Regions from separate parts of the Homo sapiens genome. Here region 2 is linked to region 1. The links are contacts of gene promoters, found by promoter capture Hi-C in blood cells and fetal thymus (Javierre and others, 2016). All regions are on one chromosome and are shown on one strand. Each heading gives the region's core, a stretch centred on a gene start or on the middle of the fragment in contact. The rest is flanking DNA. Distances are from core to core; before and after follow the strand shown. Region 1 holds the start of UBASH3B (ubiquitin associated and SH3 domain containing B). Region 2 has its middle 31 kb from the start of SNORD14E.

Evidence for each region. Contacts are between HindIII fragments. The CHiCAGO score rates a contact against its expected background, and 5 or more counts as called.
Region 2: a contact is called between a fragment that was not itself captured here and the fragment with the promoter of UBASH3B in region 1, in 1 of 17 cell types (fetal thymus). The highest score is 5.4, in fetal thymus.

What each region holds. Positions count from the first base shown.
Region 1 is chr11:122,653,659-122,657,234 of GRCh38, forward strand. UBASH3B (ubiquitin associated and SH3 domain containing B) reads left to right here and starts at 2,064. Exons shown (of 14, transcript NM_032873.5): 1 at 2,064-2,552. The coding sequence starts at 2,392. RefSeq lists an enhancer at 1,969-2,470 and a silencer at 2,674-2,723. The HindIII fragment of the contact is 6,403 bases long and covers 1-3,576 here.
Region 2 is chr11:123,025,476-123,028,725 of GRCh38, forward strand. No RefSeq gene overlaps it. Among named protein-coding and RNA genes, the nearest start is that of SNORD14E, 31 kb to the right of the region's middle. The HindIII fragment of the contact is 1,709 bases long and covers 398-2,106 here.

The sequences.
Region 1 (3,576 bases), core at 814-3,313:
AAATCTTGGCTCTGCCATTTACTAGCCATGTGACCTTGGACAAGATACTTGACCTCTGGCTCAGCACCTTCATTTGTAAAGTAGTTCCTAGTTCATAGTCTTGTCAAGGAATTGTTTGAGTCACATATGTAAGAAGCAAAGAACAACACCAGCATATAGTAAGTACTCAATAAATTTGAGTTATCATTTATGTAGCGCTTTATGGTTTACAAAGCGCTTTCACATACATTATTATCTCTTGACTAAGATCCAGATCATTTGACTTTCAGCCCAGGCATTTGGAAACAATTCAGAATACTGGATAAAATCCAGCATGTTTTACCGAACACATCCAAGGAGGCTAATACTAGGTATGGTGTTGCCAGCCCAGTCTTGTCTTTTTGCTCCATGTCCTGGAAGAGCATTCTGCAAGGTCTCCAGGATATCCCCTTTGCTCTGGAAGCAGCTACTACCCAGGAAGCATTAATTTTCCCTCATCCTTTGTACAGCAGGAGGCAGAATTAATACACATTGTTGCTTAAGCTCCAGCTGTCTTATCTCCCTGCTTCCAAACACCACTGGCTATTCTTTAGGAAACCAATTCCGGGCTCAGGGAGTTACACTGTATCATTTCCCCTGGTAAAACCTTCACAGGCCTTATAAAGCAACCTCAAAAAGCCACTCCATGGGTGCTGGTCACCATCCCTCCCCCATATTCCAACCAGGGACAGGCCCGGACTGACATTTCTGGAAAACCCAGTGTGTGCAAGGTTAGGTTACCACGGTCCATACCAATGAGGAAATTAGGCTGTAGAGAGAAGTAACTTGTCTAAGGCACCGCAGTGGATACGAGTGCTGTAGCTACGCACTTACCAGCTCTATGATCTTCCCCAACCTCTCTGAGCTGAGTTTTCTCATCTGTAAAACTGGGATAATGATTAAACACACTCCTAGGGTCAGTATAAAACTTCAGTGAGTTCATTCATTACGATTAGCACAATGACTGGCACATACAAGAGCCCAATAAATGTTAGGTTTTATTATTATTATTACCCAAAAAAGACTATCAGTTAGGGTGTACTCATTGCCTCTTTCATTATAGCAAGTGGGACCCTTGTCCCTGACTGAAGACAATGACTTTGTTTCCAAACGAAAGAGGGTTAGCATCCCCCAGCCAAATTCACCAGGTGGGGCATGGGGCATCAATATGGTTGTGGCTTCCACCATCTTTGCAGTGGGAGTAGTTTTGTCCAGCCTATGATACAATTCACTTATTATTGTGCAGTGGTGATTCGGTCCGTCTTTGAATCCTTTTATTGACAGGATATCCACTCCCTAATGAAATAAGCCCGTTCCCTTTTGAACACCTCTTATAATTAGGAAGTATGTTTTCTCTGTTCCTTCTTCCTCTACCCTCCTAGCCCTTCCTTCTTCTCCTCCTCCTTCCTCCTTTCTTTTTCCCTTCCCTCTTCTTTCTGCCCTGTCCCTCTTTTCTTGTCCCCTCCCAGGTCCTGCCACCTCTGAGAACCTGAGGTCCTTCTCCCCAACCCCTCTGCCCCACCGGGAAGGCACTATTCAGTCACTGACCATAACCTTGTAGAGCGCAGTAGGTCTTTAGTGCAGCCACTTGGCCGGCTGATTGGGAACTCAACTTCCGATGGTCCTAACAACCCTTTGGGTTTTGCAGGATCTTTGAGAAGCAAAACCTTTTACCTAGGCCTTACGGCTTGGCCTTCTGGTCCATTAGTATCATCCACCAGTTCACCCAATTTCCATTAATAACCGCATCTAGAATCACATGAAACTTGAGATGGGTTGATCTCCTGTCTTGAGGCCCAGCTGGGCGGGTATGCCAGCCAAGGAGAGGGCTGGGGCGCCGGGGGTGACTCTCGGGAGGTGAAGCACACAAGCAGCCCATAAGGTTGGGATCCTCCGTCTCCAAGTAGCGCGACTACAGCTCTTGCCCGCACGGAGCAGCCTCGGACAGCGCGGCCGCTTTAAGAGAGGGGCGGGGCCCGGGTACAGGCAAGTCAGGGCCAGCCCACAAGGCTCCTTTTCCTTTTTGATCCATTCAAAAATTACTCATTGCAAATTCCCGGACTGCTAGGCGAGGAGAGGGAAGGGGGCGGAGGAGACAGGGCTACTGCAGGCGCAGAGCTGGGGGCAGCCGGGGGCCCGAGTGGCTGAGGCTGGTCCCGCAGCGGCCGCTTGCCGGCGTTCTGGCTCCTGTGGCCTCACCAGGAAGCGTCAGAGTCCCGACACTGGGGAAGCTCGGAGCGCCGCCTCCGCTGCCGCCGCCTCCTGCCTGGCTCTGGGTCCCCGAGCCCCCTCCCCTGGCCCAGCCCGACTCCCTCCTCCTTCCCGAACCATCCGGCTCGGGCTCCTTCCCTGGCGATGGCTGGCCGCTGAGCCATGGCTCAGTACGGCCACCCCAGTCCGCTCGGCATGGCTGCGAGAGAGGAGCTGTACAGCAAAGTCACCCCCCGGAGGAACCGCCAACAGCGCCCCGGCACCATCAAGCATGGATCGGCGCTGGACGTGCTCCTCTCCATGGGGTTCCCCAGAGCCCGCGCGTAAGTGGCCGGGCTCGCAGCCCTCGGCGACCCCTCCCGCGCGCGCGGCCGGCCCTCGGCTTCGCTCCGGCTCGCCTCCCAGCGCCTGCGGGACAGGCAGCGCGCTCCCCGCTGCCCGAGACCTGTTGGGGGCGGGATGGGCGCGCTGGCAACCCGGGACTCGGCTCCGGGCGGGGGTGCGGGGGAAGACGCGGCGCGGGGGCGTTGGGCCAGGGCTCGCCGTGGGATGCCTAAAGCTGGGGGACGAGGGCGCGGGGTTCGAGTCCCGGGTATAGTGCTCAGCCTCCGCCCCAGCCGGGTGGAGCTCAGCGTTTCTCTCGCGCGCTCCCCTAGGTCTCCAGCGCCGAGCGCCTAGGGAGGCGGGGCCCTGCGGAGGACTCGGGCACCCTCTCCGTCTGGAATACTGGGCTGGTCTGGGATCCTCCGGTGTCTGGGAAAGGGCGGGAGACTGCGGGGCAGGGAGGCCGGCGCCCCCGTTGCAGCGGCTTCCAGCTCCGGATGTCGCTCTCGGGTTCGGTCTCCCCCTGGAGTAGGAGGAGCGGGAGCGTGGGTGTTCCTGCGTGTTCATTGATGGGGAGGATGGAATCAGAAGGAGAAGCGATCCCTCCAGGGGACCTGGGTTCTCGTCAGTGGTGACGGCAGCTCAGAAATCTGTGGGTGCCTGAGAGTAAGGAGGGGGAGCTGTTCTTCATCCTTCCTCTAGGAGAGTGGGGTAGGGGAGGGCAGGGAGAGCGCAGGTGGCTGCCCCTGGAGCCTGCTGGGGAGAGGCCTGTTTGCCAGCATAGGGTGGCGGCGGCCGGAGTCGTCTCAGGCCGGTCGGCTCAAGTCTCAGGGGCTGGAACTCTGCCTAAGAGGAAGCCAAGGCCCAGCGGCCAGGCCCTTCTCCCCTGGTTAATCCCTGCCGTGCAGATTTCTTAGGTGGGGACACAAGGCCTGGCGTCCGGACTGGGCGCAGCTTCTTTTCATCTTTGAATTACAGCACCTGAACAGGAGAGTTGGCCAAACTTAATCAGTGAGGGCCAAG
Region 2 (3,250 bases), core at 2-2,501, 370 kb after region 1:
ATCTGGGACAATCTGAACAACAAAAATGTTTAAAAGATAATAATGTTCACTCACAGATTAAAAGCAATATTCATGAGCCCATACTTATTTAAATAAAAAATTGAATAAACAAATAAATGAGGAAGAAAGGAAAGTTCTTTCTTACTGTAATACTCCAATTAATAAATGCAGAAGGAGTGATGCAAATAGCAAGTCACCAATGGCAAAGATCACAGTAAAAATTGTTTTTCAAGAACGTATCAGTGGATGCTAAAATTCATGGATGAAATTATTACCAGAAACATGATATTTATTTAGTCTCTAAGTATTTTTCCATGAGATGCCTATTAATTACAGTGAGAAATGTCATAACTTCACAATGTAGAAATGTGGCATATATAGCCTTAACCAAGATTAAAGCTTATTGTGTGCTTCCTGATATGATGCACTGAGAAGGACATGGCATCCCTTATGTGGTATCCTTACCAAAAATGCATAACCTGAATTTAATGTCTGCAAGGAATGCAGACATACCCAAATGGAGGGATGTTCCACAAAATAACTGACAGCTGCTCTTCAAAGGTGTCAAGGTTGGAAAAGATAAAGAAAAACTGAGACATCGTCCCAGCTTAAAACAGGCTAATAAATAAAGGCAATGTGTAATCCTGGTTTGGATCATGGATCATAAAAAGGACAGTATTGAGTCCAGATGCAGTGGCTCACGCCTGTAATCCCAGCACTTTGGGAGGCCGAGGTGGGCGGATCACAAGATTCAGCAGTTCAAGACCAGTGTGGCAACACGGTGAAACCCCATCTCTACTAAAAATACAAAAATTAGCCAGGCATGGTGGCGGGCCCCTGTAATTCCAGCTACTCCGGAGGCTGAGGCAGGAGAATTGCTTGAACCCAGGAGGCGGAGGTTGCAGTGAGCCGAGACCGTGCCATTGCACTCCAGCCTGGGCGACAGAGCAAGACTCTGTCTCAAAAAACAAAAGGACAGTATTGAAACAGATAATGAGAATTAAATGAGATAGCAATGAATTAAGTAGTAATGTTAACTTCCCAATTTTATCTTTGTACTGTTATTATATCATATGTTAACATTTGGAGAAGTTAGGTAAAGAGGATATAGAAATTCTTTGTACTATTTTTGTAAATCTTACATAATTTACAATAAAAAGTTGTAAAAAACTAAGCAAGAATTATGAACCATCCACTGTGTATAAGGCACTTTAACCAGAATATAATTTCTCAAGAAATATGTATCCTGTACGTTAGAGAACTTTTAACATAATATCAATTAATCAGAACATTGTCCTTCTATGAGCTAGAAATCCAATAACTTTCTTCTTGTACATCTCACATATCTCTATCTTAATTAATTAATTAGTTTGTTCATTCTTCTTTTTAATTAAAAAACTATGGGCTAGGCCTCATGCTGGGAACACAATAATGAAAAAGCCAGACATAATTCCTACCTCCCATAAACTAAAAGTCACATGGAGATATAATTAAAGAGTCAATTACAGTGTATAATAAGTGCCAAGATGTGTTAAGCAATTTCAGGCCACAGAACATGGCAGTTAGCACAAATTCTAGAGCCATATTGTCTGGGTTCAAATCCGTGCTCCATCACCAGCTGTGTGACTTTGGGAAAGTTACTTAACCTCTCTATGCCTCAATTTTCTCATCTGTACAATAAGAATAATAATAGTATCTACATCATATGGTTGTTGTGAAAATTAAAGGAGTTAATTTTATAACGTTGCACTTAGAATGGTGCCTGGTGAATCGCTTGAGCTCAGGAGTTTGAGACCAGCGTGGACAACATGGTAAAACCATGTCTCTACAGTAAAATAAAAAAAAAAAAATTAGCTGAGCATGGTGGCATGCACTATAGTCCCAGCTACCTGGGAGGCTAAGGCTGGGGGACCAATTGAGCCTGAGAAGTCAAGGCTGCAGTGAGCCACGATAACATCACTGCACTCCAGCCTGGGTGGCAGAGCGAGACCCTGTCTCAAACAAAAAAAGGTGCCTGGCACGCAGTAAGTCTAGGAAATGAATGGGCACACACCTGTTGCGGGGGCAGGGCTCTACTGTGTGAAGACGGGGAGTATTTAAGAAAAAAGCTTCCAGAACAAGTGGCATGTGAGCTGAGACCCAAAAGGCAGAACAATCAGGCTTTGCAAAAGCCTGGAATTGAGACAGGGCAAAGAGATTTGCAAAACTGAAAGAGTTCGTGGCCCAAGTGATGAGTGGTGAGAAATGAAGTCAGAGATTAGTAGGGACCAGATCATACAGGGCCTTTTCAGTGGAGTGAAAGAGCCTGGACTTCACCTTTAAGGCTGTGGAAGCCGTGGTGAGATGGAGGCAGGAGGAGCATCTCAATGGCCCTTCAGAAAGATTTCTAAGGCAGCAAAGTGGAGATTTATAGAGGAGATTCACAGCAGGCCACACTGGAGCCAGAAGAGGCGGGAGGCTTTTGTGGTGATCCAAAGAGGAGATGGTAACGTGCTGGACAAAGAGAAGTGGACAGATTGGAAAGATCCTTAGAAGGTTGAATCCTTTTGCTTTCCACTAAGATATGAGCACTATGAGAAGAGAATTTTTCAACAGCTTTATTGAGATGTTAGGCACGTACCATACAATTCACCCCTTTAAAATGTACAGTTGAATAGCGTTTAGTATATCCACAGCTGAGCATCCATTGCCAAAATAGATTTTAGAACATTTCTGTCAACCAGGCAAAATCCCATATCCATTAGTAGTCACTCCATATTTCTCCCCAAACTCCCTCCCCCAAGCCCTAGGCAACCACCTGTCTGCTTTCTATTTCTATAGATTTGCCTATAGACATTTCATAGAAATAGAATCATACAATATGGTCTTTTGTGACTGGCTTCTTTCACTTGGCATAATGTTTTCAAGGTTCTTCTATGTTGCAACATGTATCAGTACTTCATTACTTTATGGCTGACTAATATACCGTTATATGGATATGCCACATTTTATTTATCCATTCAATAGTTGGACATTTGGAGCGTTGATACTTTTTGGCTATTATGAAGAACACTGCTATGAACATTCATGTATGCATTTTTGTGTGGATGTGTGTTTTCATTTCTCTTGGTACATACCTGGGAGTGGAATTTCTAGGTCATATGGTAACGCTATGTTTAACTTTTTGAGGAATCGCAAAGCGACTGCACTATTTTACATTCCTACCAACAGTGTATGAGGAGTTCAAATGTTTAATATCTTTGCTAACACT